Regions from separate parts of the Homo sapiens genome. Here region 1 is linked to region 2. Evidence: promoter capture Hi-C in 16 types of primary human blood cells and fetal thymus (Javierre and others, 2016). All regions are on one chromosome and are shown on one strand. The core of a region is centred on a gene start or on the middle of the fragment in contact, and the rest is flanking DNA. Distances in the headings are between cores, read along the strand shown. Region 1 overlaps FBXW2 (F-box and WD repeat domain containing 2). Region 2 holds the start of PSMD5 (proteasome 26S subunit, non-ATPase 5).

Region 1 (4,160 bases), core at 575-3,074, 52 kb after region 2:
ATACTTAACATGGTTTTCAGTTTTAAAAGGTATACAATAAAAAGGGACCCCTCATTCCTATTCTGCAGCTCTCCAGTTCTCTCTGGAGGCAACCAGGGTTATCAGTTTCTTGAATATTCAGAATACATTTTATGCATATGTAAGTTTATAGGTGTGTATACATTTTCAGCGCCTCTGTGCTCTTTGTTTGATAAGAAAAGGGGGAAATGAAGCCTCCTTCCCTCTACCACTAACAATTATGTTGCTTTCACTCTTGACTAGGCCAGGTTCTGATAGAGGAGGAGGGGAAAACACATTTACACTGTTTTCCAGAAGGTCCTGTCTCTAATACCTCTGAGTATAGGTTTTGGGAGAATGGGTACTGGGCAAAATATTGAGCCTGCTACTTCCTGTGCCATTCTGGGAAGGCCACTCCACTTCTTGAGCCGTAAATTTCCTCATTAATGTTAGTTAAGGGCGGCATTACTGATACCTTCCATGAGGTTATGAAGATGAAATGAGATAATGTTTACCAGTGGTACTTTTTCTTTAAAACCAATATAAATATGTGAGTTGCCTAGGTAACATAGGGAGTTAATGGCAGAACCTGAGACCAAACCCAGGCTCTCATTTTCCAATTTAGGAGTCTTTTTGTTGCATGACCCACTTTGTGATTATTGATACTGAAGGCAAGAGGGCAAGTTGAATGTTAACTCTGGGGTAGGGACGTAGGGTAAGGGGGCCAAACAGCAGGGAATGTGGGTAGAATAAGGCACCTACTGGGAAACTAGAGCCTCCAATAAACAGGTGCTCTTCTTTATAAAATTAAACCCCTAGTAAGTTTGAGCCCTTGAGTTTTTCTTCCAGGTATTTTGAAGAGAAACTTAGTGATAAGATGATAGGGTCAAAAGAGATGTTAGTGGTCATGTCCATTCCACCCTTAGTGTCACAGAAATCTTTACTGCCAGGTGTTCATAGTAGTAAAACTAACAAAAAGTACCATTTGAGTTTTTACCCGCTAGACTGTACACTGTGCTAAGCATGTCCCTGCTATATTTCTGAGTTTCACCCTTCAAGTTGGATGATGGCTTCCATTTTACAGATGATAAAACTGAAGCTTAAAAGTTAGTTGGACATGCCCATAATCACATAGGAAGTGGCTGAATCAGTAAAACATCTGGCCAACCTCCAAAGTATTTTCATTTATCACATTCTGCCTCTGTGTCCAACTGTCCTTGACTGTTCGTGGTAATGGGAAACTCACTACTCTGGAGGTAGCTATTCCATTGTTGGAAAGCGCTGAGATTTAAAAGCTCCTCATGTTGAATTGAAATCCCATTTCCTGAGGTTTGTGCAACCAGTGTATGATATTTCTAGAGGCTGCCTAAAAGAGTCCAGTTTAGACCTGTTACCTTAGAAGGCCCCCTCCAAAGTTAGTTGATCTGTTCAGAAAAGTAAAAATTGGTGTTTTTTAAATAGTGCATTCTGCAGTTAGTGAGACTTGCTTTTTTAGGGAAAAAAATGCCTTTTTCAGAATAATCAGAGGTGAACTGCTCAATCTTACAAGGGATTGAGTGGTTTAAAAGGCAATCTAAGAGTTGGGAAAATTTTTTTTATTAAGAGTTAGGAGAATATATAAATCTGAGACATGGCTGAATTTTTTTAGATGTGCTCTCTGAAAAAGCTTCTTCCGTAATCTTTAGCGGTGTCATGGGCACATTAATTTGGCATTTTTTTTTTAAATTTAAGTTCTAGGGTACATGTGCACAACGTGCAGGTTTGTTACATAGGTATACATGTGAATTTGGCATATTATAGTATGTCTCTTAGATATTTGTGAATGATGGGAACCTGATAATATTTTAATGAGTATTCTAAATTTGCCTTGTAGCCGTTTGAATAACAGTTCAGCTCACTTAAATACAAGCATTTCTACAATAGATGTGTGTCAGCATGTGTATGTATGTGTGTATATATGTATGTGTAGATGTGATGGAGGAAGCTTGCCACACCACACTTTTCACTGTTAAAAATGTTTCAGGAGCAGGTGTGTGGTTTTTTTTCTTTTTTTTCTTTTTTGAGATGGAGTCTTGCTCTCTCGCCCCGGCTGGAGTGCAGTGGCGTGATCTCGGCTCACTGCAAGCTCCGCCTCCTGGGTTCACGCCATTCTCCTGCCTCAGCCTCCCGACTAGCTGGGACTACAGGCACCCACCACCATGCCAGGGGAATTTTTTGTATTTTTAGTAGAGATGGGGTTTCACTGTGTTAGCCAGGATGATCTCGATCTCCTGACCTCGTGATCCGGCCGAGCCCACCTCAGTCTCACAAAGTGCTGTGATTACAGGCGTGAGCCACTGTGCCCAGCCTGGTGTGTGTTTTTAATTGACCAGTATTAATTAACTAGCTATTGTGACAATATGCAGATGCCCACAGAAGATAATTGCTTTGTCTTGTTGCAAATTATTATTTTTTAGAAGTAGAGATTTTGAAGAAATGTTGTATAGATAAGAGGGTTGTTAGGATTTAGAGGAAGGAGGGGGCTTGTTATTGCGTGATAAGTCGATAAAACTTTTAGCCATCTGATTATTTTTTGTCAGCTAGGTAAATTTTTAATACAGATTAATAAATCTTCTCTAGCCCAAACTTTGGCTTGAAACGTATTATCTTGAAGTCTAGTCACAGTTCCAGAAATCAAAACTGTTAGCAGATGATGTGATTGCAAGGTTTGGTTGCTTCTACTAATAAATCAGATTGCTTATTTGTCTAAGAATGTTATTGCCAAATTTGATATTGGACACTTACAATTTTACTCACCTTACATTATCAAAGTTGAAAGATGAGATCTTGCTTTTTGTGTAGACCTGATCTAGGTGATATGTCTGGAAAGAAATTAACTTTCCTTTTTCACATTAATTTGGACATATGTTTTTAAAATTAATATGACAGTCTTGTGAGAAACTGAGTATTCAGAAGGAAAGTTTTTATTAAACCATGGAAATATTTAAATATATGGAAATAAAGAGAATAATAAATCCCTATGTACACATCACCCAGCATTAACATCTATCAACACATAGTCTTGAGAAAGATAGTTTTTACTGGTTATATTTTTTGTAATCTTTCATTAGTCTAATCCTCATTAAGAGTGAATTAACACCTGTTGACACTAATACAGGATACTTTAAAAAAAATTATTTGTTACAGTTAGCTCAGGAGCAATTTGTCATTCTCCTAAAGGAGAAAATGGTCTAACGGGTAGACACACTACCTCCAGATCTTACCACTTGGTCGTGGTTCTCCTGGTTGTCACTTATTTTAGAGAGAGAGCTTGGTACCTGATCTTGAGAGCACTGGCGTCCAGTCTGTTCTGTGGCTATTTAGTAGCCCTGTGAATATAGGCAAATCACATACCTTCTCTAACCTGTAGTTTCCTCATTTGCAAAGTGAAGATGATAATGTCTATTTTCTGGTGTTTTATAAACATCAGGATTATTAATTTGCTTTATTTGTGCAGGCCTCCAGGACCCCTCATGGCTCTCGGGGGCACGTGGTTAAGAGTTGTCACTAGCTCATATGAGGTTTAGAAAAACAGACTAAAGCCACATAAGTTCTTTTATAATTCATGTTCTAAACAGGCAGTGCCATAAAGAAGTTGGAAGAACCAGAATTCCTGAGGCAGATAACTTACCACACCTGCTTTTCTTCCCTAAACCTTTTCATCTGAACATCTGTTGCAAAACCAAGTAGTCAGTTCTATGATTTTGGTGACAGGTTGTGCCTGCCATGACAATCAGTGTCTCAGGTTACTGCTCAGGAGACTGTTTCTGATTGTCACATCCTGGTGCTTGCTTTTGTGATTTTAGTACCCAAATAGAATGTATTAAGGAATTCATTAAGGAAATTGTTTTATAATGGTTTTGATGGGGGAAGGGTGTATTGTAAAATATACTGTTTTATAATGAATTGTTGGTAAATCTATTACTATGAAGATGCATGTAGCACGTGCTAGACTTCAAGAGGAATAAGTCACACACGCCAGTCTGTTTCACTGACATGTTTTGGATTCATGATTTGTTAAAGTATGTTTTCTCAAATGTGTTTTCTTTTGTGTGCATGGAAAGTGTTCAGATAAATATGGTGTATTAACTGTAAAGTTGTAATGTAACTACGCATAAAGTTGT
Region 2 (4,182 bases), core at 1,159-3,658:
TCACAGCATTTTTTTTAAATTCTTGATTTTGTTAACAAAATTTCCTTTTTTTTTTTAGTCAGAAAAAAAAAATTTCTTTTTTTGTCTCTCTGTCAACCAGGCTCCCCTCAGACTCAGATTCTGTATCCATCACCTTCACCTAAATGACATCCTCTTCTTCATGTCTTCCTTCTCTTTCTTCAAGTCCTTTGCTTTATTTTGAAGGTTCTTTTGCATCTCTTCATAGGTATAAGCAATTTATTGAAACCTTTTTTAAAAGTCAGGCTTCAATCCAGGAAAGGATCCATATGAATTGTAGCATCAGACAGCATTCAATTTCCTCTGCAAAGACTTCTTCCTATGGAAATAGACTCTCAGTGATGACCAAAGACAGAAACTTGAGTAGCTCATTAATTTCACTTTCCCTAATATCAATAAATCTTAAACCCACCTGTTTTGCAGACACTAAGATTTTTTTTAACTTCTTCATTAGCTCTAGGGAAATATGCATCATTCACACATCCTCCCACAGTTTCCAGCAAGCTTAAGAGTGGCTGATTTTATATCACCCATCACCTCTTTTATCACTACCAAAGCATCGGCAATATTGTACTGTTGCCATGCTTCTTTCAGAGTAAGGTGAGGGTTTTTTCAATACAGTCAGCAAAGTGGTCAAACATATGCTTGATTATGTTCAAATGCTTCAGTTATACCCTGACCCAAGGGCTGAAGAAAGCTAGGGCCTTCCTGAGGGAGAAACACAGTATCAACATTAGAATGAACAAAGAATAATGAATCTGGGTGATTGGGACCTCTGTCCACAGTTAGCAACATTCTGATTTCCAGATTTTTTTTGTTAAATGACTTCGGATTTGATGGATAAAAAAATTGTAAAACTAATCCAAAAAGTGGCAGTGGTGATTCTGGGTGTGATTACAAGAAAACAGGAAGGCGTTTATCTCTAAAAGACAAGTGGGGTGTTAGAGTCTTTGTAAAGCAGCAGTGGTTTTATCATTTTGTCACCTGAGGCACTGCCACAAAAAAATGAGGGAAATCCTGTCCTTAGCTTCCTCTAAGCTTTCCAGATTTTTGTCTTTTGCCCCAAAAGTAGGAAGGCATGCACTGCAAAAGATGGGTCATCTCCTTGGCGTTGAAGACCTGTTGAGGCACAAAGCCTCTCTCCAGTTGCTTGGAATACTCGATACCCACTCAGGATTTAAGGGTCCTTCCTCCCCATCAACTTCGTATGTTGCAAAACAGCAGCGATTTTTAAAGTTCTCAAACCATCCCTTGCTCGCATGATACTTATTTGGGTTGTCCTCCCCAGATGTTTCCCATTGGTTCCCTGTAGATGTATTTGGCCTGGTTGCAGAGGGCCTTCCGGGTCAGATGCCGCCCTCTGTCATCTGGCCTTCCACCTAAAAGGTTAACTGGGTCTCCACCTTCACGATGTTTACATTACAGGGGAATACACAGCAGCTTAGAGCAGATGGGCGACCAACTCTCCACGCTGGTCTTTCTTGGTTTCCTGAGGGTAGTGGAGGACAAGAGGGGAAAGCAGGGTCTTGCTCTGTCGCCCAGGCTGGAGTGCAGTGGCACAATCACCGCTCACTGAAGCCTCGACCTCCTAGACTTAGGGGACCCTCCCGCTTCAGCCTCCCGAGTAGCTGGGACTACAGGTGCGTGCCACCACACCGCACTAATTTTTTTCCTTTTTTTTTTTTTTTCTTTTTGGTAGAGACGGGTTTCTCACTATGTTGCCCAGGCTGGTCTCGAACTCCCGGGCTCAAGCGATCCTCCCGCCGCGGCCTCCCAAAGCGCTGGGATTACAGGTACGGCCACTGCGACCAGCTGCTTCTCCTTGGTGGACTGATCAACACCAACAAGGCGGCGCACGTCCCTATTACTCACGCCTTCGTCAGGCTCCTGGAGAATATTCATCCAGTCTTCCAGAGGCATGACGCTCCGCCTCCTCTTGACAGGTGGCTGGCCCAGGATCAAGATTCCCCTCCAGGCCACCGCTCCACCTGGGGAGGCCTCAGCCGCGGCCGTAGCCGCGGTGGCCTCCATAACGGCTGCAGTCGTCCCCGCCTAGAGCCTGGTTTTGGAGCCTCGAGGACGCCGACGAGGCTGTTTAACTTCCCGTGAGTCCCCACCCTCGCCGCTCCGCTGGCCGGGAATTTGGCAAGGCTTTGCCCTACGCGGTAAACACGTAAGCCTACTGGCCTCCGCATTTCCCTGAGCAGCGACCTAGATGACGCCAGACTGAGGGAGCCGCAACCACTGGCTACAGTTGACACGGCCCTAACGGAGGCTTCTCGCGAGGCTTGGCAGCCCCATAGCCATCTCAGGGACAAGGAGGCTGTGATCAGATCTCGCGAGGTTCAGGAAAGCGCCCCGGGAACTGGGCCGCTGGGCCAGCCCCTGCGTCGGGGGGCAAGATGGCAGCCCAGGCTTTGGCGCTGCTGAGAGAGGTAGCGAGGCTGGAAGCGCCGCTGGAGGAGCTACGCGCGCTTCACTCCGTGCTGCAGGCAGTGCCGCTCAACGAGCTTCGCCAGCAAGCGGCGGAGCTGCGCCTCGGCCCGCTCTTCTCCCTGCTTAACGAGAACCATAGGTGAGAGGACCCCGGGGGCTTGAGCCGAGGAGAGGGGCACCCCTAAATATGGACATGAGAGTGGTTGAGGGCAAGAACAGCGCTTTTCCCAGTCACAGGGGAGGTGGAAAGTAGCCGAAATTTGCAGAGAAGGAAGGATCCTGGGTTCAGAGGCAGGAGATGGGGTTCAGGTTCAGCCTCTGAGAGTGCCCCAGGGTGTTTTCTCCCGTCGCCTGGCCTCGCTGCCTCTGAGCAGTGAGGCACTGCCTTCTTCATCAAATAGAAATTAAAGGAGGAAAGCAAAGCTGTCCACTTACAAGGAGCATTCCACATCTCTTTGTACAGGTTCTTGATTTGTTTCCCCTTCTAAAAGGATCCTATCCTGGCAATGTGGCAAGAACCATCAGCATTTTAAATTCACATGCTTTTTCATCCAGTCATTCTTGTTAAAAAAATTTAATGCAAGTATACGCGCACAAAATGTGCAGTTACTTTGTTCTTTCGAACCCGAGGCTGGAATCGCCCCAAAAGCAGCGGCAAGAGAGTTCCCACGAGGGAGTGCTTCAAACCTTCCCGAGATGTGGCTGGTTGGGATGACAGAAAAAGAAGCACTGAATGCCAAGGCGATCAGTCCAAAAGCGTTTAGGGGGAAACCTGCAGAGGGCTGCAGAAATTGTCAAGACGGACACCGGGAGAAAGGTGTTCCTGGGTATGTCCGCAGTGAGGGGGTCAGGGTATGGAGTTCAGATGAGAGTTTAAAGGAATTTGGCTCAGGGTTGAGGCCAGTTTCTTCCAGTGTTTTGGGCAACAACCTAGGTACCTTTATCAGGCCTGTGAATGTTCAAGGCCCCTGGTTTATGGTCAAGCCTGCTAGGGAAACCTGCCGCTGGCTAGGTCAGAGAGCAATCAAGGCACTCTGATTTTCCATCAGGACAGAGAAAGAAAGGGGGCGACTGGAGGACCCTACAACATTATATGCAAGAATATAACATATCGTGTGTGGCACCAGAACACTAGAAACAATCTAAATATCCGTTAACAGAGGATTCCAAATTATGCGCTATTACTCTGTAACACTGTGCAGTTATTTAAGTTATTGAGGTAGATGTATATATATGTATGTGGACATGGAAAGATCTCTGTGTTTTGTTTTGTTTTGTTTTGTTTGTTTGTTTGTTTTCAGACGAGTCTCGCTCTGTCTCCCAGGTTGGAGTGCAGTGGCGCGATCTCGGCTCACTGCAACCTCCGCCTCCCTGATTCACGCCATTCTCCTGCCTCAGCCTGCCGAGTACCTGGGACTACAGGCGCCCGCCACCACGCCCGGCTAATTTTTTGTATTTTTAGTAGAGACGGGGTTTCACCATGTTAGCCAGGATGGTCTCGATCTACGGACCTCGTGATCCGCCCGCCTCGGCCTCCCAAAGTGCTGGGATTACAGGCGTGAGCCACTGCGCCCGGCCAATCTCTGTGTTGTTGAATGAAAAAGAAAATCGCAGGGTATATCAATCTATAATTTTAACCTGTAATTTTTAAAAAGGATTACAATCTTCCCAACCCCCACAGGCATGTAAAACTTGTATAACATTGCAAATATCTGCAAAGGTACACCA

The links. Contacts are between HindIII fragments. The CHiCAGO score rates a contact against its expected background, and 5 or more counts as called.
Region 1: a contact is called between a fragment that was not itself captured here and the fragment with the promoter of PSMD5 in region 2, in 6 of 17 cell types (naive CD8 T cells, naive CD4 T cells, non-activated CD4 T cells and 3 more). The highest score is 10.4, in naive CD8 T cells.

What each region holds. Positions count from the first base shown.
Region 1 is chr9:120,788,382-120,792,541 of GRCh38, reverse strand. All of the region lies in intron 2 of FBXW2 (F-box and WD repeat domain containing 2), which reads left to right. Among named protein-coding and RNA genes, the nearest start is that of FBXW2, 3.0 kb to the left of the region's middle. The HindIII fragment of the contact is 318 bases long and covers 1,666-1,983 here.
Region 2 is chr9:120,841,148-120,845,329 of GRCh38, reverse strand. PSMD5 (proteasome 26S subunit, non-ATPase 5) reads left to right here and starts at 2,408. Exons shown (of 10, transcript NM_005047.4): 1 at 2,408-2,593. The coding sequence starts at 2,421. It also overlaps the pseudogene CUTALP. RefSeq lists enhancers at 1,837-2,186, 2,145-2,439, 2,205-2,499, 2,387-2,686, 2,258-2,787 and 1 more. The HindIII fragment of the contact is 10,742 bases long and covers 1,059-4,182 here.